Regions from separate parts of the Homo sapiens genome. Here regions 2, 3, 4, 5, 6 and 7 are each linked to region 1. The links are contacts of gene promoters, found by promoter capture Hi-C in blood cells and fetal thymus (Javierre and others, 2016). All regions are on one chromosome and are shown on one strand. The core of a region is centred on a gene start or on the middle of the fragment in contact, and the rest is flanking DNA. Distances in the headings are between cores, read along the strand shown. Region 1 holds the start of HAND2 (heart and neural crest derivatives expressed 2). Region 2 overlaps CEP44 (centrosomal protein 44). Region 3 has its middle 11 kb from the start of LINC02268. Region 4 overlaps LINC02268 (long intergenic non-protein coding RNA 2268). Region 5 overlaps LINC02268 (long intergenic non-protein coding RNA 2268). Region 6 overlaps LINC02268 (long intergenic non-protein coding RNA 2268). Region 7 overlaps GALNTL6 (polypeptide N-acetylgalactosaminyltransferase like 6).

Evidence for each region. The method cuts DNA at HindIII sites, captures the fragments that hold promoters and counts their contacts. A CHiCAGO score of 5 or more calls a contact.
Region 2: a contact is called between a fragment that was not itself captured here and the fragment with the promoter of HAND2 in region 1, in 1 of 17 cell types (endothelial precursors). The highest score is 5.4, in endothelial precursors.
Region 3: a contact is called between a fragment that was not itself captured here and the fragment with the promoter of HAND2 in region 1, in 1 of 17 cell types (endothelial precursors). The highest score is 5.8, in endothelial precursors.
Region 4: a fragment that was not itself captured here is called in contact with the fragment with the promoter of HAND2 in region 1 in 2 of 17 cell types (endothelial precursors and erythroblasts); the score reaches 6.3 in endothelial precursors.
Region 5: a fragment that was not itself captured here is called in contact with the fragment with the promoter of HAND2 in region 1 in 2 of 17 cell types (megakaryocytes and M1 macrophages); the score reaches 6.1 in megakaryocytes.
Region 6: a contact is called between a fragment that was not itself captured here and the fragment with the promoter of HAND2 in region 1, in 1 of 17 cell types (megakaryocytes). The highest score is 5.1, in megakaryocytes.
Region 7: a fragment that was not itself captured here is called in contact with the fragment with the promoter of HAND2 in region 1 in 1 of 17 cell types (non-activated CD4 T cells); the score reaches 5.1 in non-activated CD4 T cells.

The regions. Positions count from the first base shown.
Region 1 is chr4:173,528,040-173,532,018 of GRCh38, forward strand. HAND2 (heart and neural crest derivatives expressed 2) reads right to left here and starts at 2,190. Exons shown (of 2, transcript NM_021973.3): 1 at 696-2,190. The coding sequence starts at 1,250. HAND2-AS1 (HAND2 antisense RNA 1) reads left to right here and starts at 2,332. Exons shown (of 5, transcript NR_136196.1): 1 at 2,332-2,500; 2 at 2,928-3,039. The HindIII fragment of the contact is 6,850 bases long and covers 1-3,979 here.
Region 2 is chr4:174,285,105-174,289,083 of GRCh38, forward strand. The region is part of intron 1 of CEP44 (centrosomal protein 44); the gene reads left to right. Among named protein-coding and RNA genes, the nearest start is that of CEP44, 3.2 kb to the left of the region's middle. The HindIII fragment of the contact is 1,223 bases long and covers 1,139-2,361 here.
Region 3 is chr4:174,229,390-174,233,368 of GRCh38, forward strand. No RefSeq gene overlaps it. Among named protein-coding and RNA genes, the nearest start is that of LINC02268, 11 kb to the left of the region's middle. The HindIII fragment of the contact is 759 bases long and covers 1,701-2,459 here.
Region 4 is chr4:174,191,606-174,195,584 of GRCh38, forward strand. The region is part of intron 1 of LINC02268 (long intergenic non-protein coding RNA 2268); the gene reads right to left. Among named protein-coding and RNA genes, the nearest start is that of LINC02268, 27 kb to the right of the region's middle. The HindIII fragment of the contact is 1,809 bases long and covers 1,139-2,947 here.
Region 5 is chr4:174,130,715-174,134,693 of GRCh38, forward strand. The region is part of intron 1 of LINC02268 (long intergenic non-protein coding RNA 2268); the gene reads right to left. Among named protein-coding and RNA genes, the nearest start is that of LINC02268, 88 kb to the right of the region's middle. The HindIII fragment of the contact is 170 bases long and covers 1,962-2,131 here.
Region 6 is chr4:174,109,214-174,113,192 of GRCh38, forward strand. All of the region lies in intron 2 of LINC02268 (long intergenic non-protein coding RNA 2268), which reads right to left. Among named protein-coding and RNA genes, the nearest start is that of LINC02268, 110 kb to the right of the region's middle. The HindIII fragment of the contact is 2,487 bases long and covers 423-2,909 here.
Region 7 is chr4:172,969,255-172,973,233 of GRCh38, forward strand. All of the region lies in intron 10 of GALNTL6 (polypeptide N-acetylgalactosaminyltransferase like 6), which reads left to right. Among named protein-coding and RNA genes, the nearest start is that of GALNT7, 200 kb to the right of the region's middle. The HindIII fragment of the contact is 275 bases long and covers 2,174-2,448 here.

The DNA.
Region 1 (3,979 bases), core at 940-3,439:
ATAACAATGACCATAGTAATGCCTTTTCCCCCTTAAAATGTACAGGCTTATTCAAATAAAATTAGAAATGCCAATGGAATATACTCATCTGGGAAATTACATTTTAACGTCATAGCCAAGGAAAAATTGGAGCTGTATTTTGAAGTCAAAAGTACTTATTTTATGTTTACCATTACGTTTTCCGGGCATAGTATGAGAACAACCACAAAACTCAGGGCTCAGTCTCTGGCAGCCTCCTTCTGGGAGTGGGGTAGGGGGTGCGATCAATAGTGAAATAATTGGAATCAAGGGCTTCTTCGAGACTTATTCTGGAAACATCTGAAAGCAAGATTGGATTGGAGGCCAAAAGAAGGGTCTAACAGAGACGGGGTGAGGCATCCAGACCAGTGCGATCGCGATCGATCGCGACCCAGAGTTTTCAAGGTCCGTCCTAAGTACTAGGGGAGCAGCGATAACCCGGAGGTAAGATCACCAGCGCAAAGCATCCCTAACCTTCTCCTCCTCCTGCTGACACCCTCCCCTCAACTCTCTGCTTATGCCGGAAGCCATCCTTACACAACCTGGTGCAAACAACCTTGAAGCGGGACGCAGCCAAAGAACACGAGATGCCATTTCTCAGCCCAATTGGAAAGAGGCCGGGAGCACCAGTTCCCTGACCCCCTCAGCCCCACCGCCTGCCGCCCCCTGGTACTGACCAGCTCCTTCTTCCTCTTCTCCTCTTTCACGTCGGTCTTCTTGATCTCTGCCTTGAAGGCCTCCGCCTCGCCATTCTGGTCGTCCTTGGCCAGCAGGTCCATGAGGTAGGCGATGTAGCTGGTGGCCAGGCGCAGGGTCTTGATTTTGGAGAGTTTGGTGTCGGCGGGTACGTTGGGGATGCACTCGCGCAGTTCGGCGAAGGCGCTGTTGATGCTCTGAGTCCTGCGCCGCTCCTTGCGGTTGGCGGTGCCTCGGCGCTTCACCGGGCGCGGCCCCCCCAGGCCCGGGGGCCCGGCGCCCGGCGGCACCCCCCCGTAATGGGAGTGGTCCAGGCCGGCGGCGCCGCTGGCATACTCGGGGCTGTAGGACAGGGCCATGCTGTAGTCGGGGGGCGACATCTCGGGGTGGCCGATGAGCCAGCCATGGAAGTAGGGGTTCTCCTCATGGCTGCAGCGGCTGGCGGCGGCGGCGGCAGCTGCGGCGGCGGCGGCGGCAAACGGGTAGCCCTCGTGGTGCACCACCGGGTGGTGGGGAAAACCACCTACCAGACTCATTTCGCCCTCCGCGCCCCTCCACGCGCCCCAGCGTGCGCGCAGCCCCGCCGCGCCCTCGGCCCGGGCCCCTGCCTCAGCGCTCGGCGTCCTCCCCCACCCCCCACCCCCCAGCCCCCGGGCGCCCGGGCCCGCCCGGCAGCCGCAGAGGGGGCTGCTGCAGCCCGGGCCCCGTCCCCCCGCCTGGCCAGCCGGGCCCGCCTCAGCAGCGCTGCGGCCGCCGGCTCCCCATGGGGCGCGGCGAGCTGGTCCTGGCACCGTGCGCCCCTGGCCGCCGCCGCCGCCGCCTCCGGTTCCCGCCTTGCTCCACGGCCCGCGCTTCGGCTCCTGCTTCCCGGGCTGCTGCGCGGAGGCAGAATCCTCTCGTGCTCATACAAAGGTGCCGGGGCTCCCGCGAGGCTGGTACGCGGAGTCTCGGGAATCCAAGCCCGGGCCGCGGTCCTGGCACCGAAGCTAACCCGGAATCCAGGGGCGAGTCTGAGCCGCGGCTGGAGGAGCCGGTCCAGCTGTGCCGGGGGGCGGCGGGGTCGACTGCTCACTGCAAAGCTACCTCCGTGCGACCCTCCCCTTCCCGCCTCTTCCCCTCCCCCCACCAGCCCGATCTGGGTTCTTGGGCGCTTATTGTTTTAATGAAATTTTTGGTTGTTGTTGTTTTGGTCCTTAAATGTGATTTTAGCTGCGAGTAACGTGTCCTCGCTCCTCTCGCGCTCTCTCGGAGGGTTTTCAGAGAGGTCTCAGTGCATCCATTTTCTCAGATCCTCTCCTTTCGGGGCAAGGATCTGGGGCCCTGAATGAGCCTTGGAGCTCGAAGACCGCGGCTCGGGCTCTCGGAGGGCTCTGCGCGGTGGCCGAGGAAGCTCCGGGGTGACGGCGGTGGTTCTCCTGGGCTGGACGACGTGAGGGGAGCAAGCGGATTTTCCCAGCAAGATCTCCATGTACAGCTACATCTTTAGGGCCGCTCGGGTTAATATATGTCGTCAGAGGCTCCTCACGCCAATCCCGGGGCGGCAGGGGCGGCGCCTCGAGCTCTCGGCAATAAAACTTTTTGATGTTCACGTTGCTAATTGCCGAGGTCCTCTTCCAGGATTGGCTACCTCCTCATAACCATAAGATAATTAAAACTTGGCGGGGGGGGGGGGCAGGGTTAAAAAAACTTTTTTTATCAGTCAGAGGATAATGCAAGTGTTTAACAGATGCTTCACTATTAAAATATTTTCCCCCCAAGTCTCAAATATTGAAGAATCTCTAACCAGGTACAGTATCACTCTGCTCTCTTTTCTGGTTGAAAAGAAAGAAAGAAAGAAAACGCAGGTATTGCTTTTCGAAGTGCTTTGTAGGTAATCGAGGTAAGAAAATATACGCAGGCAGCCTCTTACAATTTTATGCAGGGGCGCCGGGAGCCTCGTGACGGGCGGTGGGGGCCCCCACAAAGGCGCGGCTGGGAGCTGGCGCTCTTTGCCCCAGCAGGGACGAGGAGCGGCTGGAGAAGGGTGTTTCTTTGACCCGTTTACAGGCTCGAAACGCCGGTCTCAGTGGCTATTGAGTTACCCACCAAGTTACCCCGGTTAGAGCTGTTTGGGGTGGCTCACGTTATTGCGGCAAACTTTGGAGATGACGGCTGAGTCCTCCGGGCGAACATGTCAAGCCGATTGTAAATGCTGTTATTTCCACATCCTTCAGGGACACCAGTCCCTACGAAGACCTTGGGCGATTTTGAAGTGCGGGCACCTCGATTCCCCGAATCTGTAGTGTGGCTGGTATCGGTGTTCCCCTGGTTTAACTAGCCTGTTTGGTAAGTAACTGAATATTTTTTACGGCGTGTTCAGAGCTTATTTTCCAGTTTTTATGAACAAACATATAAATATATCTCTGCATTCCTGCCTCCCTCATAAAAGCGGGCATCTGTGGAAAGCAGGTTTAGTTATCGGAGGGGAACCATTAAACGCCAGTTTAAGAGGCAGGCCGGGAGGACGGCTCGTGGATGTTGAGACTGCTGGCCTTGGTGATCTTGAACGCATTATAACGGAAAATGGATCTCCACTTGTAAGTCACCGGGCCGCGGGGCACCCGGGCCGCAGCGCCCGTGTGGCATGAGCTTCTTGAGAAGGCTCACGTGCGGCGAGGGCGGGTGGTAAATGGCAGGAGCTGAAATCACCCCAGGCTTGGCCCCAAGCCGAGAGGGGAGGCTGATGTGTATATGCAGATTCCACCCGAAGGAGTTCGGTGTGGAAAACGGTGTCAACAGGAGCCCGCGGGCTGTAAATTAGAGGGAGGCGAGGGCCTGCGGCGCCAGCGCGGGACAGGGCGGCCTGGGGCTCGCCGCTGGTCAGGCCAGGTTAGCCCAAGGGAGACCAAAGACTCCACCTTGAGCATCGCCCTTTGGAGGCGGGCAGAGTCCGGCCGCAGGCCACAAAGCGATCCCCACCCGAAGGACTCCACAAGGACAGTCCTTTCCTTGCTCACCGCCGACAAAGTGGTTGGGGCAGGAAGGCGAGGTCAGTGCGAATGGAGGGCGCCCAACTTCGGTGTTGCAGTTGACTCTGTGCTCGGGCTCTGCCCTCCACTAGCCCTAGAGTCTTGGGCAGCAGGATTGAGAAATATATATATTTCAGGTTTGCCGCGGCTGGGCGGTAGGAGACAGGGACTTAAAAGCCCAGGATTAGAGTCGGTGCAGGGCCCATTCTTTTTCTAGGAAAGGGGTTAACATCCTTGAACGTCCCCAGACAAGCGTC
Region 2 (3,979 bases), core at 500-2,999, 760 kb after region 1:
GAATATTGAGAGCTTCTTTATTATTGAATCTATGCTGCAAGCTGAGTGGTATCTCCTTTTTTCCTTAGTTTGCCTTTGATCAGTGCTATAAGTTGAAAATGTTAAATTTTTAAAAGTATTTTTCATTAATGAAAGTAAGGTGTTAAAATGTACATAAGTAATAGATTGGCTTCTTTTAATGTCTTGTTTTTAAGGCTTTTGAATTTTATAGTAGACTTAGTAAAGCCCTTTGTGAGAATGTAGAGCAGTAGCTGTAATTTTATTCTGTGATAATCCCAATTTTAAATCCCTTTATTTTTCTGTCTCCTATCACTTACCTCGTTCACGAGCTCTGCTTGTATTACTCTTCAAAATATTTATTCACTGGTACTGAAGAGAGACATAACTTTGTTGTCAGAAATTCCATTATCAGAGGTAGAAATCATGTAAGAGACACTGAAATGTTTTCCAAAATGTCAGAAAAAGGAAAGGTGAGAAGATATCATAAAGTGTTACGTAAAACAGAATTACTTGCACTGGGAAAATGGAATATACATCTGGAAGGACTAAAGGAAGTCTGGAAAGACATAGAATTTACATTAAAGTTACTGGGAAGAAGGTATCCCTAGAAGAATTGTGTTACGATAGATGGGTCTGGAACCCGAAAGAAGCTCAGACCTACTATATTGGCCAGTGGCAAAATCCAAGAATACATTTTTTGCGGTTAAAGCCAGAGTAGTCCTCACTTCATGTTTTTCAGGAAAGTAAAGGCTTATCTTGGGAAATCCCTTTTAGGCTTCCGTGTGTCCATCTACCCCCAGTCAGTCTAAAGGATATTAAATAGGGTTTACCTTCTTGGCCAGTGTTTTGTATAATGTGATTTCAGGATGACTTTCTCTTTTTCTAGTTATCTCCCATTTGACAGTACCTAAAATTATCTCTGTCTAGAAATGTAAATGTTTAGTTGAAGTAATTTATTGGCTGAAAAATAGTGACTAAAATGTGCATGCACAAGTCTATAAAGTATATTCAATAAGCTGTTGCCTACCATGTTGATAAAGGAGACTAGGAACAGAAAGGTAGGTTCATAAAGAGGGAGCAGTTGCTCTACCCTGGGGAAATGGCTGTGGAAATGAGTGGCGAGGGGCTTAAAGTAGGAAGCTTACTAAATTTAGGATTTTGTAAATCGGTGACCTTCTTACCTTTCCTTATTTAAAGATAGAGAAACGGTGTGTAAAGGGATGATTTGTATCCTGGACAGCTGGGTAATGCGAATTGGAGGAAAAGATCACACTAACCCAGCTTCACCTGATTTATGAATTGTTCTGTTTTCATTTTAATATAATGACTTCATTTTAATGTGATAACTTCATTTTAAAGGAGCTTCATTCTCAAAGGGTTCATTACTCAAGGTATTGTTATGTATTACTTTTCTTCTATGAAGTGTCCATGGACAGTTGTGGTAGATGTTTTTATGTAAGTTATTGAGTTTCACGTTACTGGCTGACTAGACTTTTATAGTTCAGAAACTTACCTCCTTCCAGCAAAGGTTCTTAATCGTTTATATACCTATTTATGACTCTTCTTTGGGAAAAATCTCCTTTGATAATCTAATGAAAGTCCCACTCCATGCAAGAAAATTAGTCATTTAGAAATAAATTCCATGCTATTACTTTTGGGGCAGTTTTTAAAAAATGAATCATTTTGTTTAAAGTCTCAGTTCGTTCAAATCTTTTGGTTCACGTATGTGTTTTTCTGTTGTGTACATTCTTCAGAGTCATATTCCTGTTTCATAGGCCCCATGTATGTCAGCTTTTAGTAGGTATCACCAGTAAGTTTTCCAAAATAATTGTACCATTTACTCTTTCTGTAAAAAGCATAGATATTTTGAATTTCTTGCCTTTTTTTCTGTGTTCACCTTTTCTTCTTGGAAGTAGACAGCTGGCTAACCAGCAGGAGTTTGGGACCGATGACAGTGCAAAACATCTTGACTGACAATGGTGGTGGCTTATTAAAGTGAAGAATCAGCATCAAGAGGGGGAATCGGTGTATTCCTTCTATTTCTAGGCCATTGGGATATAGGTCGTTATGGGACCCCAGGTAGTAACCCAGCTCATTCTGAAATAGAGCTGAGAAATGACAAGGATTAAGTGTTGCTTTTCAGGTAGAGTGCTATTTTGGACCCTTGGCACAGATTTTGGTTCTTTATTATGATAAGTACCAAGAAGGAAAAGAACTGGGTCTATTAGAGAAAATTAATGAGGGGGATTAATTAGTTTGGGATCTAAGACTTATTTGAGGTGGTGACATTTAAGCAGGATGCCGAGGGGTATTAGCCAGATGGAGAATGGGAGAGGGAAGGAGTTGCTCTGTATCTCTTCAAGCTTGAAGAAATGGCATGTGCAAAGGTGTTGAACAGCTTGAGATATCACCAAACATCCTTATCCAGGTCCAGGAACTTTATCCCAGATACCATTTCTGTTATTTGTTGCTTTCTATAATATTTTAAATTAACTAAATCACACACATTCTCTTTTTCATCATTACTTGGTAAGTGGAATGTTTTGATTTTCCCTTCTGGTTATGATTTACATGTATTAACTTATTAATACACGAAGATCAAAAAGTGACCAAAATTGTTCAAAAGGTACAATTTATTATAGGATAATTATAATTATTTCATGCTGACAATATGTTTATAAGTGTTTTGCAGTAACCTTTTTGTTTCTATAATTTCATGGTAAGAAAGAAAATGAATTAGGTAGAGCTAGTAATACCAGGTATAGACAAGAATGTAGTATTTAAAGCTAATATCTGAAATTCTCTTCTTGCATCTGCTAACTGAACGAGAAAATTCTGTGTGTGAGAATGGAAAACTTTGGGTGAAAAGTGAAAACTTGGATTTTGTAGTCCAGGCCCTTAATTAAGTAGATAACACACTCAGAAGGAGAAAATTTGGGGTGCTTTATATACAAAGGGACTATTTTTAGAGGTGTGTGTACAGGGATCTGGTGCTGCTTCATTTTTTAACCTGTTTATTGCGGTATGATTGACATACAGAAAGCTATAGACATTTAATGTATACAGTTTCTGTTTGGAGATAAGTAGATATTGTGAAACCATCCAACCATTATTACTACAAGAAATCAATGCCATCACCTTGAAAAGTTTCCTTCTACTCATCTTTTTTTCACGTTTTGTGATAAGAGCACTTAACATTAGATCTAACTTCTTAGCAAAATTTTAAGAATACAATATTGCTAATCACAGACACTGGGTTGTACCTGCAGATCTTATTTATTTTGCCTAACTGAAACTTTGTACCCTTTGAACAACAGCTTCCCATTTTGTTCTCCCCATGTTCCCTTACAACCACCATTCTATTCTCTGCTTGCATGTATTTGACTATTTTAGATTTCACATACATTGAGATAATACAGTATTTGTCTTTTTGTGTTTAGCTTATTTCACTTAGCATAATGTCCTTCAGGTTCATCCATGTTGTTGCAAATGGCAGGATTTCCTTCTTTTTTAAAGGCAAATTTGTTTATTCTCACATTTTTGTTGGGGTCCCTAAGGTTTTCTACATCTAAGATCATGTCATCTGCAAACAGATATTGTACCTCTTCTCTTTTTATTTGGATGTTTTTAATTTATTTTTCTTACCTAGTTATTCTGGCTAGGACTTAAAATACTACGCTGAATAGGAGAGGCTAAAGTAGGCAACCTTGCCTTGTTCCTCATCTTATGGGGAAAGCTTTCAGTTTTTTATCTTTAAGTATCTTAGCTGTGGGCTTCTCATAAATGGACTTTATTTTGTTTTTCCTTTACCTAATTTGCTATAAGGTTCTTCCATACCTAGTTTATTGGGAGTTTTTATCACAAAAGAGTATCGAATTTTGTCAAGTGCTTTTTCTGCATCTGTGCAGATGCCCATGTGAGTTTTATCCTTCATTCTATTAATGCAGTATATTACATTGGTTGGTTGTCATATGTTGAA
Region 3 (3,979 bases), core at 830-3,329, 700 kb after region 1:
AGAGAAATACATATTTTTAGAATTTATGCTGTAAGAACAAAAAACTCCAAAGGGAAAGAAAATGAATAACTATGAACTCCTTTGCAAACACAATTGCCTAAATTAGACTTTGCAATCAGTTTTTAGGGAAAAATATGTATTTCTCTCCTTCCCTTAATTTCACAAACATTGAGAAAATAAAATATATAATTGTTGAGAATTATAGAGATACAATAAACTATTCAATGGCTGCAAGACTGAAAATGACATGGGCTTTGGAAGAAACTCACTGGAGGGCAATGTGATGGGTGTCACTGTGCTAGTATATACACGGAGCTACTTTACTTAGCTCCTTTTATTGTCCTCTCTAAAAGGGCAGCAGCTTTGATAAACTTTTCTGGGCCACCCCACTTTTCTCAGACTGCCTACCACAGGAGCACAGGCAGATATTCACTGGAACTCTGGCCCTGGCAAAAGGTAATTTCCCTTTGGGAACATATATTCATGCAGCTCAGAGGAGACAACTACCCTCAACTTGTTCAAGATGAGGGCACTCTTTGTTCATTTTTTGTTTAGATAAAAATTGGCAAATACACATTAAGTTTCTGTAAAAGGAGCTACTGGATGTCTTGTTATATCAAGACATTTTCTATGAGGATTTTTTTGGAAGAATTTTCTCTGGCTTGAATTCTTTTGGACAGGTTTTGAAATAAAATGATAAACACTGGTATTGGTAATTGCTACAAATACAAATAACAATTTGTACAATTGTTATTGTAATTTGGTATTGGTATTGTTTTTGGAATTAGCAATTGACATTTGGTGTTTAATTGGTATTAACATTTACTTAACTTTCAGTTAAACACAAATGTCAAATACAACAATTTGTACAATACTAAATACAATATCAGTATTGAAGCAAAAATATATATTCCATTTGCCACCTAGTAACTAGGTATATTCAGCAATTTGAGTTTAGCTAATGTCATCATTTTTAAACAATACATACATAAATAAGGGTGTATTAAGTCATATTGCAACCTTATACCTTAATTTAAAAACTTGATTATAAAATTAGTCATGCTTGTTTTTTAAAAGTATTTTGAACAATGAAAAATGATTTTACTTTTAAAAAAATGCTTCACTTTAATTCTTTAAGTTAAAAAATAGAATGTAACCTGAGATCCTAAAATTCCTTGTTTATTTTAATTTTTAAAACAAATTGAGAGGGGACATTAGTACAGATTTTGTCTTCAAAGTTTCCTTTAGAAAATGTCAACAACTTAAATATTTAAAAAGTGATTAACTACTTGCAAAGAGACTAAAAACAATATCTTAAGTATGTGAGTCCCCAAACATACATATTTCTGATTTAGACTTTTAAACTGTCAATACCAGAGAGACAACGCCACTGATGGGGACCTGGCACTAGTCCTTCCAGTTAATTTTTTCCTTGGAGAATGGTTTTGGGCGACAGAGTGGCGTCCGGCTTCCCAGGTTGTTGCACTGACAAACTGCAGTGGTGGCAAAGTCAAGGAGTCTGACAAAATCTCATTAATCATTTTAAATTAAATCCAACCTTCCTGTCCAACCATGCCAGGAAGAAAGCCTTTATTTTTTTTTTAACAAATAAAAATTTCCTCAGTAAAGATTTGATATCTTTCTCTTGTTGGTCTTTAATTTGATGAGACAAAAATAAAATAAAACAATGTACATTTTTAAGCTTGAAAACAAAACATTTGTCCAGATAATGATTTAACAGGTCAACTAAGTGTCTTTTTAAAATAAATTTTGAATAAAAATACATGGAAACATTCTGAAGGGAAAGCCTACTAGGTAAATTAGGGACATTGTTCATATTCTGAATAGTTTGATTAATTTATTTTGTTCTATCTAAAATATATGATCCTTAAGAAGATTTTAAAGAGGAAATACACAAAAAATCCACTATCTATAATATTTTGGTATATTTTATGCCAGTCTCTTCTTTGTATTCACAGGTTTTTGCTTTGTTTTATATAATAATTGTAATTTGTGTATATATATGTACAATACACACATGTACAATTTTATATACTTTATAATATCTGTAAGAATTTTCCCATATTATTGATAAATATCATTGCATCATAGTAATACATCATGAGGATGTATTTTGGTCTTCTCAACCAGTGCTTAGCATAGTGTCTGGTACATAGAATGTACTCGAATATTTGTTGGGTATTTGTTAGAATTTCAGTGTTTCCATCTCTTTTTTCTTTTAAAAACTGATGTAATTAAAGTTGTGCATATTGCCTTTTCCCAATTTGGAATTATTTCCTTAAGATGACTTTCTAGAAGAAGACACATTCACTTATGAATGCTTGACAAGAAACTGTAGGCAATAGTGTTATTAATAATGATATTTAGGAAAAAGTTCACTTTTGACACAGGAAAACAGGTTTTAATTTGAATAAACAAGTTGTTATTTTAAATATTAAAGCTTATGAATAAGCTTACTCTCATTGAGCACAATATTCATAATATTGTCAAAAACTTAGACCAATTAAAAGAAGTAACAAGATCAATGACAAACTCTTGATGTTTTTCTTATTTTTAAAAAAGGTCACCGAGTCTGCACGAAAAAAAGTAGGTAGGCAATCTCCAAGTAGCAATAACTCATTCAGATAGTTCAAATTATTTCTGGAGAGGTGAATTTATGTCTAGAATAATACACAGTTGAATCTTAATATTTTTTAAAAGTTAGCTAATATACTCTGGTTTGTAAATTGTGAAAGGTCTGGATGTATTTTTTAAAAATGGAAATAGTAAAGCCATATTTCTATGTGATTATATAGAATCTAAACCAGAGCAAAAATGATTCAACTGGATTTATTGAGAAACTACTCTGGGCTAACATCTGTGTTAGGCACTGAGTGAGATACAAGAACAAAATTTCCACCTGCAAGAATTAAGAAAGTTGTCCTGGAGGGGAAAGAATCTAACAGGACTTGGAAGGACAAATAACATTCAACAGGTAAATATGAAGAAAGGTTAACAGCTTTCCCGAAGAGAAACACAGTGCAAATGAATGGAAATATGAAAATACAGATTTTTATGAAAATACAAATTCATCAAGATTAGAGAGTGCTAATTTTAAAAGAATGTATTCAGTAAAAACCCTATTGATGACAAATTTGGAGGGAATTCTAAAAGTTGTTAAGCATTTTTGTTCTTTCCTCTCTTCTTCTTTTCATTTTCTTTTTCCTTCCTAGTAGGACACCAACTAGGAAACACTGAATTGCTAATTTGGTAAACATTTACTAAATGTTTATAATTAAGGTTTTTCATAGATAGAACATGTTAAAAATTTCTACTCACCTAGTTTTAAAAATAATCAGGAACAAATCCCTACTCAGTAATCATAGGAAGTAGAAAAAGAATACTACCCAATTGGAGAGGGTTCCACTTCAAGTGATGGTCAAGAAGTTCTTTCAGACCAACCTGCCAACATATGAAATTACAAACTCTGGACAAAATATTTAAAAATTAACTAACTGAAAGTAATAGAAAACAACCAAAAGCAGGTTGATCCTACAGAGGAGTGAATACTTAGAAGAAATAGCACTGGGTGAGTTTCCTATTTTTATAGTTCATAGCCTGAGGAACTCCTCACTCTGCATCATGTGGAGACTACAGTTGTATTGACTTGAAGAACACTAGGACACGTTTGGGGTAATGGCAACTGCTGGAAAACGCAGAGGGAAATCCTGATACGAAAAGAACCACAGAGAGAGCCCTAAATTCTGTGTATGACTCTGCTAAAGCTGGCTGGTCTCCCACGCATGCATGTACAGAAGAGATTTCAAGTACAATAGCCAGGTTAAAAAGCTGAACTAAAATCTGAGCTGCCACGAACTCTAGGGGAACCAGAGCTTGCAGCTGGCAGTTTGGCCAAGTTAACTAGCTGCTTTAAAAAAAAAAAAAAAAAAAAAAAAAAAGAAGCCTTTAGAGAAACAAA
Region 4 (3,979 bases), core at 793-3,292, 660 kb after region 1:
CTATGGGTTGTGTCACTGGGGAGGAACATGGAGCTTTGGGACTTCAGTGCCGGCCCATTACTCCAGAAGATGACATTCTTTCTAGTTTACAAGACTTCAAGCAAACCTGCCCTTATCTTGATTGAGTACTTATAAGAATGTTTGCTTCATGAAGGCAGGAATTTTATGCCTTTTTCACTTCCATATTTCTAGCCCCTAAATAGTAAAATAGTAGGCTCAAGATAGATACTTGTTGAATGCGGTTTAATTATGAAAATGCCTGATTTTCCTACTGAGATGAGTGACAACCACTTTCAGGTCAAATGGATTCTGAGACTATTTCCTACTAGGGATTTAAATATCAATTTGGAAACAATTTATAATATCATTTTAAATCATGTTTCTAAGTAATAAAAAAAGGATAAAATCAAGCCAAAATGACTATACTGCCTTCATTGTTTCTAACAAATTAATTGTTTTAATTTGCAAATACTTTTTAAAGCATTAACGTATTTATCTGTTTCAATGAGTTGACTTGAGGTAAAAGCCAGGTGGGACATGCTAGGTAAACTAATGAAATAATACATTATTTTTTGAGAATAATGAAAATATCAAAAAAGGAATTGCTTTTAACCATACACTTGCATTCACGTTTTTCTTCCCTTGGGAGAACATCAGTTTATTGATTTTTATAATTAATCTGGACTAACAGATGTCTGACTGATTAGTTCTGGTAACAATATTTGTCATTTTTGATATCTTCTCAGCTGTTCCATATGGGATTTTTTTTTAATTTCTATAGTTTCTTAAATCAGAGCCAATGTGTAGTCATTTCTTGACATTTATGACTCAAATTTTGGTACTGCTAAACTTTTAAGAATTTCTCACACTTAGTTCTCATATTTCTGCATTCTTCACAGAAACAACTGCAATCTCCTCTTTCTTCAACTTTAAGGATGAGGCTGACACTGTCAACACTGTGAGAAAAGTAATGCTAGATGGGGGCATGAATATCCTAGAAGTGTTCTAAAAAGGAGCTTTGTTAGAGGACAGGTAGGTAGAAGATGCTGAAAAGCATGGCTTTCCCAGATGCCCTTTCTAGTATCATCACAGTAAGAAACAGCGGTATGACCAATAAAACTAAATAAAACAAAAACCAAGCTTTGTTCGGGTAGTACAGTTTGTGGTCAAGAACATAAGTTCTGGAATTGTACAATTTGGATCCCAGTTCTGACTCTAGCTCATGATCCTGGATGAGTTATTTAACCACTCGGTTTCAGCTTCCCCATATAGAAAAATGGGATTAATAGTATCCCAACCAACCGCACTACTGGGAAGACTAAAAAGAGAACACTTGCAAGGCACTTATCACAATGTCTGGCAGACAGTGAATTCTCACTAAATCTTTGCTATTAACTATCGTTTTGAACTTCAATTGGCTAATCATACTTATCAAAATACCTTCTGGGAAGTGCAAGTCTTTAGTCAATATTGCACGTGTGTTTACCAAGGGCCTACTCAGCAATATCGCAGTCATAAATACTCATTATGTTGCTGATAAAGTCTATCTTAGCCATGTTCTCTAGAAACAGAGCCCAAGGCAAAGCAGATGTGCTAACACTTTATTGGGGGAGTACAATCCAGGAATGCAGTCATGAAAGCAAATGTGAGGGAGATAGAAGGGAGTGTGTTGTTCTGGATACAGCTTCATGATAAGTTGACTGCCCTTTTGCACAAGATCTCTCTGGTGGACGTTTATGAAAGTATGGTCCTTTTAGGGTAAAGGAGAGAATAAAACTTATCTACCAGCACTCACACTATTCAAAATTTGCCCCACAACCATTAACACTTATAGGTTCTATATACACGGGTGACCATCAGATTCCCTAGTATCCTGCTAACTTCTCAGCAGCAGGGAAGCCACAGGACCAGAAAAAGAGGTGTTCATTGAGGAGAGTAAGTTAATGATTTAGGAACATTTCTATGAAAAACACAAGGAAGTATGGAGAAATTGCCACAGCAGGCCCACTCATCTATAGGAACAGGGACACCTCCGGCCAGAGAGCAAGGCAAGTGCATGGGGCTGGGGTAATGACTCAGCTCACTGATGCACACACTAGCTTAGGGAGCTCTGAGCTGAGGGAAACAGGATTGAGAATTACTAGACTAATCAAATCATACCTCTTTCTTTTCTAAATTTTCTGGGCCTGGGGTATATCAAGTTTATCTGAATGTCTCAAGCTCTCATGGATGGACTTTTCTATCTCCATTAGGCCCCAAGAAATCTACTATCGTAACTGATTTTCAGTCTTTTCAAATCCCATTTTATTATCTGTCATATGAATGAATGAAATAATAAAAAATCAAATACAGACAAAAAACAACTGAAGCAACCTATAACAGTACAGTTAGAAAACATGACACACATAAAGAAAAGAACTTCCTCAATTATTGTTTTCAAAAGTGATGTTAAAAACTGCTCATATTGAATAATATTTAGACAAAAGTATCTTTAGGGTGTCTGTGCAAGTTAGTGTTTCACATGCATTTTACTGAGATGCCATGATCCCTGGAGGCAAACCAGAGCTACTTTGGGTATATCACATAACTGAAAAATAGCTACTTTATCTCAAAGAAAATATGAGATAATTGGAAAACTTTAAAGAAATATTCTAGTTAAATCTGAATGGAAAGAGGTGTGAAACAGATGAAAAATATGAAGATTTTTTAGATGATGCCTGGCTCACAGAGATCCTACTTTAGTCTGTTAGACCGGCTTCACCAAACAGCAAATAAATTGCCACTGCACTGAAGTGAATTTGATCATAACATGAACAAAAATAACAGCAGTTTTAGAAATTAAAAAGAATTAAAGGGAGAATGGTACACTAGATCATCTGAAGCAGGTCTCTAATACATTAGAAAAGCTGGACAAAATGTATAAAATATTTACTTTAAGGCATGGTAAAGCTTACGTGTTAATGAAGTTACTAGTTCAGGATCCTGAAGTATAAAAGATAATCAGAAAAGTAAGTCCAGCTCTGTGGCCACTTTTCCCCTGTTTTGTGGGGTTCTGTCCTCTTAATCTGAAAGAGAAAAGGTGAGAGAGGGAATGGTGCTTTTGACTGAGAGAACAGAAACAGTCCAGAGCCTGCCAAAGGGAGTTCCCAGTTGAATTCTCCTTATTTTGAGTTGAAACTCTGGAGGAATGAACCTTCAGATGAAAAGGGTGAAAGAAAAGATAAGAGTGGGGTGGTGGTGTACAGCACTCATAGGAACTGTAATTGAGCTTAAAATCATCTCAATACTGAAATTGAGTTAAGATAATCCCACTTGGCTCGTGCTTCCAGTTACTTGGTAGGGGGAAAAGCAAATCCTCTCTGGAAATTACAACAGTACCCTGTTTTCCAGAATATTATTAAAAACAATTGTGTAAACACAATGTTCAGAGAATATTTTTTAAAAGCAGGTACAAAAAAGCAACACTAGTGAAAAACAGCAAAAACAAACAATACAAACACACTCACAGGAACACCTAATTTGGAGTTAACATTTACTATGTTCAAGGTCAGGGACAATATTTCAAATTTAAGTAGAGCACTAAAATCTATTTTTAAAAATGAAAATTTCAGAACAGAAAATGAAATAACCAGAATTAAAAAGCTCAATGGATGAGTTTTATAGTAAATCAAATACGGTTGAAGAGAGATTTGTGAACTGAGATGTAAATCCGAAGAAAATTTTCAAAATGAAGCATAAAGGGACTAAAAAACAGAAAATACAGAAGAGAAAATAAGAATGATTCGGAGATATAGTATAGTATAAAAGTTTAACAACAATGGATAGAAGCTCCAGAAGAAAAAAGGAAGAGAATGAACAGGAGTTATATTTAAAGGCAAAATCACTGGGAATGTTCATAAACTGATGAAATAAATGAAGCCAAAATTGAAAAAACTATAAATGCACAAAAAGGAAAAACTAAAAAATAATCAGCAACTAC
Region 5 (3,979 bases), core at 797-3,296, 600 kb after region 1:
ACCCCATCTCTACTAAAAATACAAAAATTAGCCAGGCATGGTGGTGCGCGCCTGTAATCCCAGCTACTCAGGAGGCTGAGGCAGGAGAATCACTTGAACCCAGGAGGTGGAAGTTGCAGTGAGCTGAGATGGCGCCACTGCCCTCCAGCCTGGGAGACAGAGTGAGACTCCATCTCAAAAGAAAAGAAAATGTACCATGTGCCAGACACTGCAATAGATGCTGAATAAGACATGGTTCTACTTCTCTGACTTACTATTGGGAAATTTTGGTGCTTTGTTCATTAGGCTGCTGCTTGGGGAACAGGAGGTCCATGCTCAGGTTTATGACCTCATATCAGTGTTGACAAGAAGTTAACTTTCGTAATTTTTTTCAACATCTTTTTTGGTGCTTAAAAAATTGAATATAAGAGCTGTTCCAAAAATAATTACTGGATTAGAAAAGTTAAAAAGCATATGTGTGATGGAAGATTATGTTTTTAATATATATGAACTTTGTATGAGAGAAAACTAGTACATATTAGAAAATGAGATAATATGGTAGTTTAACAAGAAAAGACTGGCTAGGGCGCGGTGGCTCACGCCTGTAATCTCAGGACTTTGGGAGGCTGACGTGGGCGGATCACCGGAAGTCAGGAGTTCAAGACCAGCCTGACTACTTGGTGAAACCCTGTCTCTACTGAAAATACAAAAAAAAAATAGCCAGGCATGGTGTTGCGTGCCTGTAATTCCAGCTGCTCAGGAGGCTGAGGCAGGAGAATACTTAACCCAGGAGGCGGAAGCTGCAGAGAGCCGAGATTGCACCATTGCCCTCCAGTCTGGGCAAAAAGAGTGAAACTCTGTCTCAAAAAAAAAAAGGACTGGCTAAAATTAAAACCTCATAAGGTACTAAATGTAAGTCATTTCTATCATTTAAATTTGCATTTGAACCCAAGGTGTGAGTGACCTGAGGATAATTTTTTATTATAGAATTCTACCACTTCAACTACAACTGAACCCAAATTTCACTTGCAATGCATTTGTCTTTCTCCTTATTGATTCTCAAATCACAGTTAAAACTGCTAATTTAGGATCTAAGATCAGGAACTGGATGGATTGAAGGAGTATTGCAGTGAACGTGAACAATGACTACTAAATGTTCATATAGAAGGGGGTTAAAGAGTAGTAAAATAAATTCTTGTAGGTTGGGGCCAAAAAATAAAAGCTCATACACATTTGTTTGATCTTAATGTCACTAAATTTGGAGTATGTTTCCTTTAAATAAATGTAGGACACTAATCTCTTTAAATTTCAAAAGGGAAACTTTCAGATGTGCTATTAGTAAATGTGCTATTATAGTAAAACTCCAAATAAATGATGGGTGGAAATCAAGCTGTTAGTGTAAAAGCAAGACATCTTTTTGGCTTTGGGCACTGGAATATTGCCTTTGGTTGATACAGCACAAAAACTAGAGAAATGTTGCAAAAAAAAATGTTTTAAAATACTTCCAGGAATAGACAGCTAGAATGGGTGGGCCATACTTCTATCTTAATGGCCTGTACATCAAAAAGTTTTTAACTCAATTTATTGGAAATGATTTTTTCCACTGGAAATCATCTTCACTAGAATCCAAATAGAAAATGGATTCGCATTTCCAATATTTGCTTTACAGTCATTAACATGTTTGTGTTGTTTAAAGTGACGTTTGCTCCACTTCTTACAATTGTGATTGTTTCTACCAAACAACTTCAAGATAACTTTAAAACAAATTATTTACTAAAACAGAAGGAAAGTAATGCAAGTCCTCAAATTATAAGAATCACTGATGGTGAAATATCTCTATTTTAAAATTTAATAATTAGAATGCTATATTTATTTAGTGGATATAATGAAAACACAACATTTTAAGTCTGTTAAGTATCATCTTACTAAGTCAGTGTTACCTTAAGAAGTAACTACTTACCTTAGCCACAAAAACTTTTTTAAGCTTACATAGGTTGCATGAGGCATCAAATAACTGACACTTTATACTTTAAAAGTCAATCCAATCAAAGAAGAGAATCCAAACCAATTGTTTTACGGTGGGAAACCTGGCTGATTATAGACACTCTTCTGAGACATACAGCCACAGCTCCATTTCGACAGCAACAGAAAAAGCTTAGCAATAATCCAAACATACATGCAACTTATGCCAATTATTTGTTATTTTCCTGTTTTGGATACAATTTTTACATGAATATATAACATATAATTTATTCGTGTATAAAATTTTCCTACCAGTAATCAAACTAAGAAAAAAAAAACATAAAATAATTGAGGATCATTGAGAAAGTTACATTTCAGGATACCAAATAATGGAAATCATAAAAAAGATCAAGGTTATTTCAGTTATTGAGGCAATATGACAAAGTTATATTTGGTTAAATAATATACACTCTATTATGACAAGTAAAATAATCAGTTTAAGTCTAAAAGTCAACAGTACAGACACTCTTTTGTGCTTCTACTAATGACAATTTTAAAAGAATTAATAATATAATTTACTTGGAATTTTGTGGATCTTTAATGTTTAGTAATGAATGTCTCTTTGTTACTTCAATTAGTAACTCCCCCAAATTGCAAATGATCCAAACAATTATTTGTACATTTTTCCAAAGAGATTTTTCCCAAATGTTTCAACCATGAGGAAGAAAAAAATATATATATATATATAATAAGAGGAGAGCTTTGTGTAAGTAATAAATGGTGAATATATTCTATATTAGTGTTTATTGAAAATCAGATATTACCAAACAAAATGTTGAAAATGTATTTATGTACAAATCCTCTTTGTTTGTTTTTTAACATTCAAAGATCCCACTATGACTTTAATTCTAGGATTATACTTTTGGATTTTTTTTTGTTATTTATTTTAAGAAACAGCTCGTATCTTTAAAGCTCTGGAATGGTGTAAATCATTACAGTGGTTTCACATTTTCATGGGATCAAGGAAACAACAGTAAGCTCATAAAACAGATACCACTAATTATGCAGAGAAGAAGCCATAAAGTCACTGGGAGAAGCATGTTTTATATTCATGAACACATCATTAAAAGTTTAAGACATGCTATCAAATTCTACATTTTAATACTATGCCCAACAGCATTAAACCCTCCCAACAAGAAAATCAGATTGTTTAATGATCCTTTTTGTGTCACACTGGTTTTATATGTCTGCAGTTGAAGCAGATGTGGAATTTGTATTGCTGAACTTTTTTTTTAAATCATTGGATAGTTAAAAAATCATTTATCCTTTATATCTAGTTAAAACAAAGAAGGTCTGAATCATCTTCCAATGTATATCTCTTAAATAAAATGTATTTGTTGAGGTAATAAGCCTCAATTCCATATTGCATGTATTTTTTAAATAATAATTTGGGTTTTCTTTAGAACATGTAAAAATGTAAAAGGGGTTAATAAGGATAAAATAGCTTCCATTTTAAATTAATTTTTAAAATGCTAAATAAAACAGAAATCAAATGAAATCAAATTTTATGAGGCCATATGAAAACACAAAAGTATGTGATATCATTAAGAGAAATCCAAGAATCATACAAAATGTTAATAATATTACAGACAGCAATTTTAAGAGCTGTTCATAGAACATCACATTTGCCACCAGTGCCGCACAGATTTAAACTGCAGCCTCTCTTCACTTGCCCACAAAGGGACTCCAGATGCGCTAATATTTTAATTTGCGTGTAATTCTAAAATGTTTCCATTTGTACATAATAAAATGCTCAGCATTCCACAATTTAAGCACATCTTGTAGACAGCTCAGCAATACACACTTTCTTGGATGGGATTTTACATAGTAATATGCTTCAAGCTTAATCTCAAAGTGAAAGTAAAATGGAGTTATGACAAATTTAGAGAGGAGGCCAAAAATGCTGCAAATGGGAAAAAATTAAGTAGGGGGGTTAGTTGTTGTGGACAAGAAATAAACTATATAAAAGTAAAGACAT
Region 6 (3,979 bases), core at 416-2,915, 580 kb after region 1:
ATCTTTTTAATTCCTGCCCCAAATTAGAGTAATTCACTCCAACCAAAGCCTATTGTAAATGTATGCTGCTGGCTAAGTGTTCTCTTTTCAGTTTAAAGGGGCATCAGTCAGGACTCTCCATTCTTCCCAAAACTGCAGAGTGAAAAGTACAGCTGCTTCTTTCAAGGAAAGTGAAAAAAAAATGAAAAAAACTGAAGCCAAGTGTTTTGCTTTTCTGTTATTTTAAAATTCAAACTCTCAGAAGAGCTTCAATTTCTGTCTTTGATCGCAAAAGCAATTTATAAATAGGAAGAATTACTAAAGAGGTGGGATTTATCCTTTTCTTTTAATCCAGATTTTTCTGACATTTCAACTATTTCTAAAAAAAGATGAGAAGGTAAGATCTCTGCAACAGCTCTGCAAGGGTGAAATAACAGATACAAAGCTTTATAACATTTTTATGTATTGAAGTTTTTAAACTATACTAGAATAAAGTTACAAATTTCAGGTAGTTAGCAAGAAATTTTGCCTGACTTTTGTATTTTTTTCTCCTCAAATCACCTTACAAAGTGTTTTTAAATCGTGACAACCTCCAGAATTTCTCATTTTATTTGTCTTGGGCTCATAAGTCTCTTTCATAGATATTTCAGCAAGGATTGGAAAAGGCAGGGTGAAAAAAAGAGTAAGACTTGCTTCATCATTTTAAAAACATCAGAACTAAAATATATTATGGACATAAATACAAACTTAGAGTTTCCAAAGTGGATACAATTTGTGCAGCTCAATGTTTGATATCTAGATATATTTGTAACATCTCAAAGCACTCTGCCCTGATTTTTTTAGACAGATTTACAGAACCCAGCTTAAGTTAACAGAAGTTGTAAATTATGTCTAAGTGGAATTTATAAACAAAAGTTAAAGTTGAGCATGCAAGGGAATATTGAAAAGTTTGCATAATGCTGTCAACATCTACAGTGCCAATGTTCATCCTTTCTTTTGTTATTAGCTGAACTTTTTTCTGTATACATGGATATATGTCTGAGTAAGTACGTGTGTACAGATGTATGTTTTCAAATGAAACAAAGCTGTGCAGTTATTATCGCAGGGGCCGACTGGTCTCTAGGAGCACGTGCTTCCCCTGGCCTATTAAAATACAGTACCAACATTTCCCTCCTGTAGCATTGTGAGTGTGATCTGACGTGAGCTTGCGTTTCTGGGAAAGCGCCTGGAGAATAGCAATTTAATTTAGAAACTGCTCAGCGTAAGTGTTGGGTAGGGTTTGACGGTACTGCATCAGGTGATGAGATAAATTTTCAGAGATACCACAAAGAAAGGTTGGAAATGTCATCAGAGAGTTTATATTAAGTGTAGTTTTCCTACAAAGAAATTGATTTTAAACACCATTTAAATTTATAATCTGTGTCAGATTTCAGTGTTTTATTGCATTACAGAAGTTAGATATTAGTACCTTGTTTTCAAACTGTTTTGGTACCTAGTATGGGCTTTTTCTTGAATTGCAAACATTGCTATTCTTTTGGATACTATTAAGCTAATAGCCAAAATGGAAATTCGTATGTCATGGAGATGACAAATATGTCTCCTGCTAATTGAAATGCTCTAATGTTGTTAAATAGTATTTTCGGATATGTTTACTCTTCTATAGCCTTTTTCATTCTTATTATACAGTCAGATGTTAAAATATGTGCATATATATATATATATATATATATGCACACATGCATATACACACATAATTTTATAGTTGGATTAGACCTAGAATGTCTTCAAAAAAATTATGAAAAAATTCCTCCTTCTCCACTTATCATCATTATCTAAAAAGCATGCATTCAGCTCAAATTTTATTGAGCACGCACAATGCATCTTAAGTAGTATTATATATTGTCCCTGAAATTAATAGGGGAAAAATATTTCAGTCTAGATGAAAATCGTGTTCATTAGTAACCGATACAATGTTATTTCCAAGGATACTCAACTTTATTTTCCTTTTGATGACACTCCGTGGAGAGAAAAAGTTGTTTAATTCTAAAATTGGACTGTTTCTTCTTAACTGGCCTATCAGCTTGCTTCTCTTCCTGCCTTTTTATTGAATCCATACTTTGTATTTCAGTGGCCCATTAAATTCTTCCTGCTTTTTAGAGTTTCTTTGAAAATATCTTGTGAATACTGCAGGAGAAAAATTGCACTGAGTGTTACAAATCTCCTGTATTCTCTAAACAGGGACAGAAATGTCTTTGGGTTTTGTTTGCTTTGTTTTGTTTTGTTTTTAAAGGAAGGATAGAACATTAACACATGACAACAGTGAGATTACACAGATAAATTTTTGAGTCCTTTTATCTAGTAAACATTCTAATGACCTACTTCAAAGGCAGGCTGGGAAGAAGCCTCCCTGTCCTCCTGCCAGAATGAGAGGCGAAGCTCTTTACCACTCATATGGGAGATATGAGGAGACTTTGAATGGATCATTGCTTTTTATGAGTAGTAATGAGGTGAGAAGTATTCTAGTGTGTGGCACAGGCCTTCATTAAGAAGCGTGAAACAGAATGGCTTATGGTTAAAGGGGGTAATTTGTTCTAACATACTTGCTAAATTGTGTTGTAACCATGCCAGTTAACAGCACTATATTTTCCATAGGATTCCTGAGTGCATTTGTGTGCAATTATTCTTCCCATACAAAATTCAGGGATTTTTCCAATAGCTTGTGTTAACTAGTTGACAATGCTCACTCCTTCAGTGGAAAGTACACGGAGCCCCACCGTTAAAAAGGGGTGAAAGAATCCAGAGATGTTCTCATTCTCTTTCTAAAGCCAAAGGGTTCTTGTAAAATCAAAAATTCACAGAACCCAAAATTAAATGAATACCATTTGTCCAAAAGGTAACATCAGAAGTAATAGGTAGTTTAATAACTACAAAGCTTCAATTTTCAAATATGCATTATAATTAATAGAATCCATAAGAAAGAAAATAAGATTTGGTGGTTTCAAGTCCTTCATTAAAAAAAAAAGACAAGAAAAACTGAAAAGTAAGAGCAATAATTTTGCTACATTTGTGAGGAAATTCTGCTCATAACAGAACTTGAAGTTCTACAACATACCAAGATTGCTTGTTCAGACTCTTACTGGGAACATTGAGCTAAGATTTTGTTCACTGGAAAAATCTTTCTACTTAGAGAAACATAACATGAAAACATAACATGTTTTTTTCACATGACCAACTATCAAATGAGAAAATGTTGTAGGACAGAAACATAAAGGTTTGGACAAGACCCAGAATTTGGGTATGTCATACGGGAAAACTATTTTATAAGTGGCAACTTTTTAAGACACATTATTACACGGGAAATGTTATAACATTAAAATTTGAGGGGAATATCCCTATGAATTTTCTGGAATTTTCTTGAAAGGCAATAACACGAATATGCATTGTTTTATAAAATATTTTGTAACTGATGGCACAATATTATTGTAATAAAAACATTAATTAAATATAATTGATAGACAATCACAGACTGAAAATGGAGACTTAAAATTTAAGCACCAAAAACCTTTACAGTGAAACAGGAAGTATTCATGTTTGTCCACTCTCTGGAATTTTTGAGCCTTTGCTGTGGGGGAGAAGAATTTCCGTTTTGTCACTTTCCATCCATTTCATTATTATTCAGTTTTTGCACATTCGTTATTTGATATTTTGAAAACAATGTTTGCAATCATAGGTAAGTACATGATTCTAGCTTCAAAAATAAATACTGTCAAACTTAATAGAAACCAGGCTGTGGGCCTCCAATAAATGTAATAGGCCCAGCCTCTCCTTTCTACTTCTTTTATTGGGTTTTCAGGAAAGTCTATGAAAGAAATTCTAATTGCAGCTGCTCCTAGCCAATGCTTAGGTTCTCTTCCCCTTAGAGAGGGAAATGGTAGCTCTGGGCTATACGGTGGAATGAGTGGTTTGGTGTTTGTTTTTTGTTTTCAAGCTAATTGAATAT
Region 7 (3,979 bases), core at 1,061-3,560, 560 kb before region 1:
GTAAGAGAAACTGAGGTTAGAAGGGAGAATGAAACTAATAAACCAGACACAAAGAAAAGAGAACAAAAAGAATTTGTCAATGATTTGGAACAATAAGTGAAGGAGATTCAACATAAAATTCCCAAAAGAAGGAAGCCCTCTGAGAAGAAAAAACAACTAATACATAAAACTATAATTCAAAGAAACCTTTTCAAAATAAAAGATTTGAATCTATGTATTAAAAGGACCATCTGGGAAATCCAACTAAGAACCATCAACACTGAAACACTTTCTAATAAAATGGTTGTATTGTTAAAACAAGAAAAAAAATAGCATCCAAGCAAAGAATGAATCAGACTTTGAAGTATACACATTTTGTACCAGAAGACAATGAAGCAGTAGTTGTAAAGATGCTCAAGATAAGAAAATACAAGCCAAAGATTTTATATCCAACCAAACTATCCCTCAAGTATGAAGGTGGGTGCTATGATTTGAATTTGTCCCCCAAAGTTCATGTGTTGGAAACGTAATCGTCAATGCAACAATGTTGAACAGTAGGATGTTTGAGAGGTGATTAGGTCATGAGGGCAAAGCCGTCATGAATGCATTGATGCTATTATCACATATCGGGGGAACCAGCCCCCAATATTTCAATGTAGTTTATTTCTATTTTCCCTAAGTGTCAGCTGGTCTGAGAAATAAAGAGAAAAACCACAAAGAGAGGAATTTTACAGCTGGGCAGCCAGGGGTGACATCACGTATTGGTAGGTCTGTGATGTCCCCCAAGCCACAAAACCAACAAGTTTTTATTAGGGATTTCAAAAGGGGAGGGTGTGTACGAACAGGGAGTAGGTCACAAAGATCACATGCTTCAAAGGGCAAAAAAGGAGAACAAAGTTCACATGCTTCTAAGGCCGATAAAGATCACAAGGCAAAGGGCAAAGCAAGATCACAAGGCAAGGGCAAAACTAGAATTACTGATGAGGGTCTATGTTCAGCTGTGCATGTATTGTCTTGATAAACATCTTAAACAACAGAAAACAGGGTTCGAGAGCAGAGAACCAGTCTGACCTCAAATTCACCAGGGCAGGATTTTTTCCCCACCCTAATAAGCCTGAGGGTACTACAGGAGACCGGGGTGTATTTCAGTCCTTATCTCACCACATAAGACAGACAATCCCAGAGTGGCCATTTATAGACCTCCCCCCAGGAATGCAATTCTTTTCCTAGGGTCTTAATATTTAATATTCCTTGCTAGGAGAAGAATTCAGCGATATCTCTCCTACTTACATGTCCGTGTATAGGCTCTCTGCAAGAAGAAAAATATGACTATATTCTGCCCAACCCTGCAGGCAGTCAGACCTTTGGTTGTCTTCCCTTGTTCCCTGAAAATTGCTGTTATTCTGTTCTTTTTCAAGGTGCACTGATTTCATATTGTTCAAACACACATACTTTACAATCAATTTGTACAATAGTGGTCCTGAGGTGACGTACATTCTCAGCTTACAAAGATAACAGGATTAAGAGATTAAAGTAAAGACAGGCATAAGAAATTATAAGAGTATTATTTGGGAACTAATAAATCTCCATGAAGTCGTCACAATTAATGTTCAGAGATTGCAGTAAGGACAGGTGTAAGCAAATATAAAAGTATTAATTTGGGGAACTGATAAATGTCCATGAAATCTTCACAATTTATGTTCAGAGATTGCAGTAAAGACGGGGTAAGAAATTATGAAAGTATTAATGTGGGGAGCTGATAAATGTCCGTGAAATCTTCACAATTTATGTTCCTCTGCTGGGGTTCCAGCCAGTCCCTCTGTTCAGGGTCCCTGACTTCCTGCAACAATCACAGGAGTGGGTTATTGTGGGAGCAAGCTTCTAATAAAAGAATGAGTTTGGCTCCCTTCCCTCTTTCTGTCACCCCCATAGGATGATGCAGCAAGAAGGGCCTCATTGGATGCAGCCCCTCAATCTTGGACTTCCCAGTCTCCAGAACCATGAGCCAAATAAATTTGTTTATTAAAAATTATAGTCTGTGATATTCTGTTATAGCCGCACAAAACAGACTAAGACACAAGGCCATCAAAAAGCAGTTATAAATATTCAAGAACTCTGGGATTATTTTTACCAAAAGCCTTTCTGAGCAATCTGCTGGAGAAGGAGCATTAGAAAACCAAGAGCTGCTTGAAGAAGCTTGTTGCAGGCTCTGGTAGAAATTGGCTACAGGATGGAGGAATATACAAATTATATATAATCTGACAATGTAGAAATAATACAAGTAACAAGTGGGGAAAGTGAGTGGAAAGCAGAATACGTTTGCTGATTGTCGCATAGGCATTAACCAGGAGTAAAACAGTATCATCTATGTTTAGACACTGGGGAGGATGGAAGAAAAGCAGTAATAGTTATAGCCAACTTTAGTATTGCTTAGAGAAAGGTAGAGTTAGGCATTAATTTAAAAAGAGAAGCTTCAGCTATTATAAATAATATTAGTGTAAAGGCAAGAAGTGGAACAAAAACACAAACCATATTAAATACTAAAGATTGGAAAGAGAAAACAGGCCATATGGGAAAAGACCTTCTAGATAACAGTAAATTATGTAATAAATCAGTATGTCAGAGCTGAGATCAAACATATAAATCCACAGAAAGAAAAAGATTCAGATTGACTAAAAAGGCAACTCTCTCTGCTGTATATGAGACATACCTAAGTCAAAATGATAAAGAAACATTAAAAATTAAAGAATATGCATAAATATGCCAGGCAAATTTAAGTAATAAGAAAGAAGGGTTTGAGATCTTGATAGGAAGCAAGGTAGAATACAGAGAGAAAAAAAGTCAAAAAGTTAAAAGAGACTGAGAAAGACATTATAATATCAAAGACTGCAATTCATTGAAAACAACTTACATAAGGCAGAAACTGCTAAAAATCTAAGGAGAAACAGAAAGAAACATGCTAATAATAGAACCTTAACACACCTCTCTTGATCCAAGAATGAATAAGTGGACCAAAATGAATAAGGATGTATAGAACCTAAACCATGTCATCAATAATGTAGATCTAATATACCTATCTAACTCTAAAGCATTTTTGGAATTTACTTTCCTTTCAAATGCACAAATTTAAAAGTATGTTAATGTTATAAACAAATAAGATTTTTGAACACATATCAAAAGATATCTAAGCCTAAAATTAAAGAAACAAATACCCTACAATCTTAAACTTGAATTAGAAATTTCAACATCAGCTACTTTCGGAAAATAGCCACATTCTAGCTTTGTCCACTGAAAAAGTCTAGAAATAACTTCAATCCAATCAGTGAGCACACCTAGCTCTCAATTGTGGTCTCTAAATAGAATTGTTCACAAATAGAACTAAAGATTCATGAAGAAATAGCTGATTCTAGTTGTGGGGCAGGAAAGGTAGACGGTGGGCTGAGATAGTTTGTTACTCTAGAAAGTAGAAAGGGAAGAAAGCTTTCAAAGGCTGGTGGAGGTCATGTCAAAAGGACATGGGAGTCAGCTAGAAGGGGATCCCACTTGCCATAGATGAGACAACATGAACAATAAAAAAGTGACCCCATTAATTAAAACAAATTGAATATACAAAATGTTGTAAATTTAAAATGATATTTTTTAAAAGGGAGTTAGGAGAGAAAGAAAAATAAAATAAAAGTCACTGGGCACCAATGGCAGTTGCTTGGGCACCAAATCATGACTCTAGAAATTGAGATTTAAAGGGAAACAAGCATTTGTCTGGCTTTTCTGGTATAATGTGCATTTCAGGATGTCCAAAGAGCTCTGTAGTTGAGGGATTTTATACAGATGCTCAGATAATAAATTCAAAAGGAAAGAATTTTCTAAATCAACATTTTGCAATTCCTGATGCAATAACTGATTAAAGAAATGGTCCTCATTAGATAATAAAACCTTAGATGAAGTATTGATGATAAACTTCACAATAAAATTATCAAGCTACCATCACCTAAACCCACTG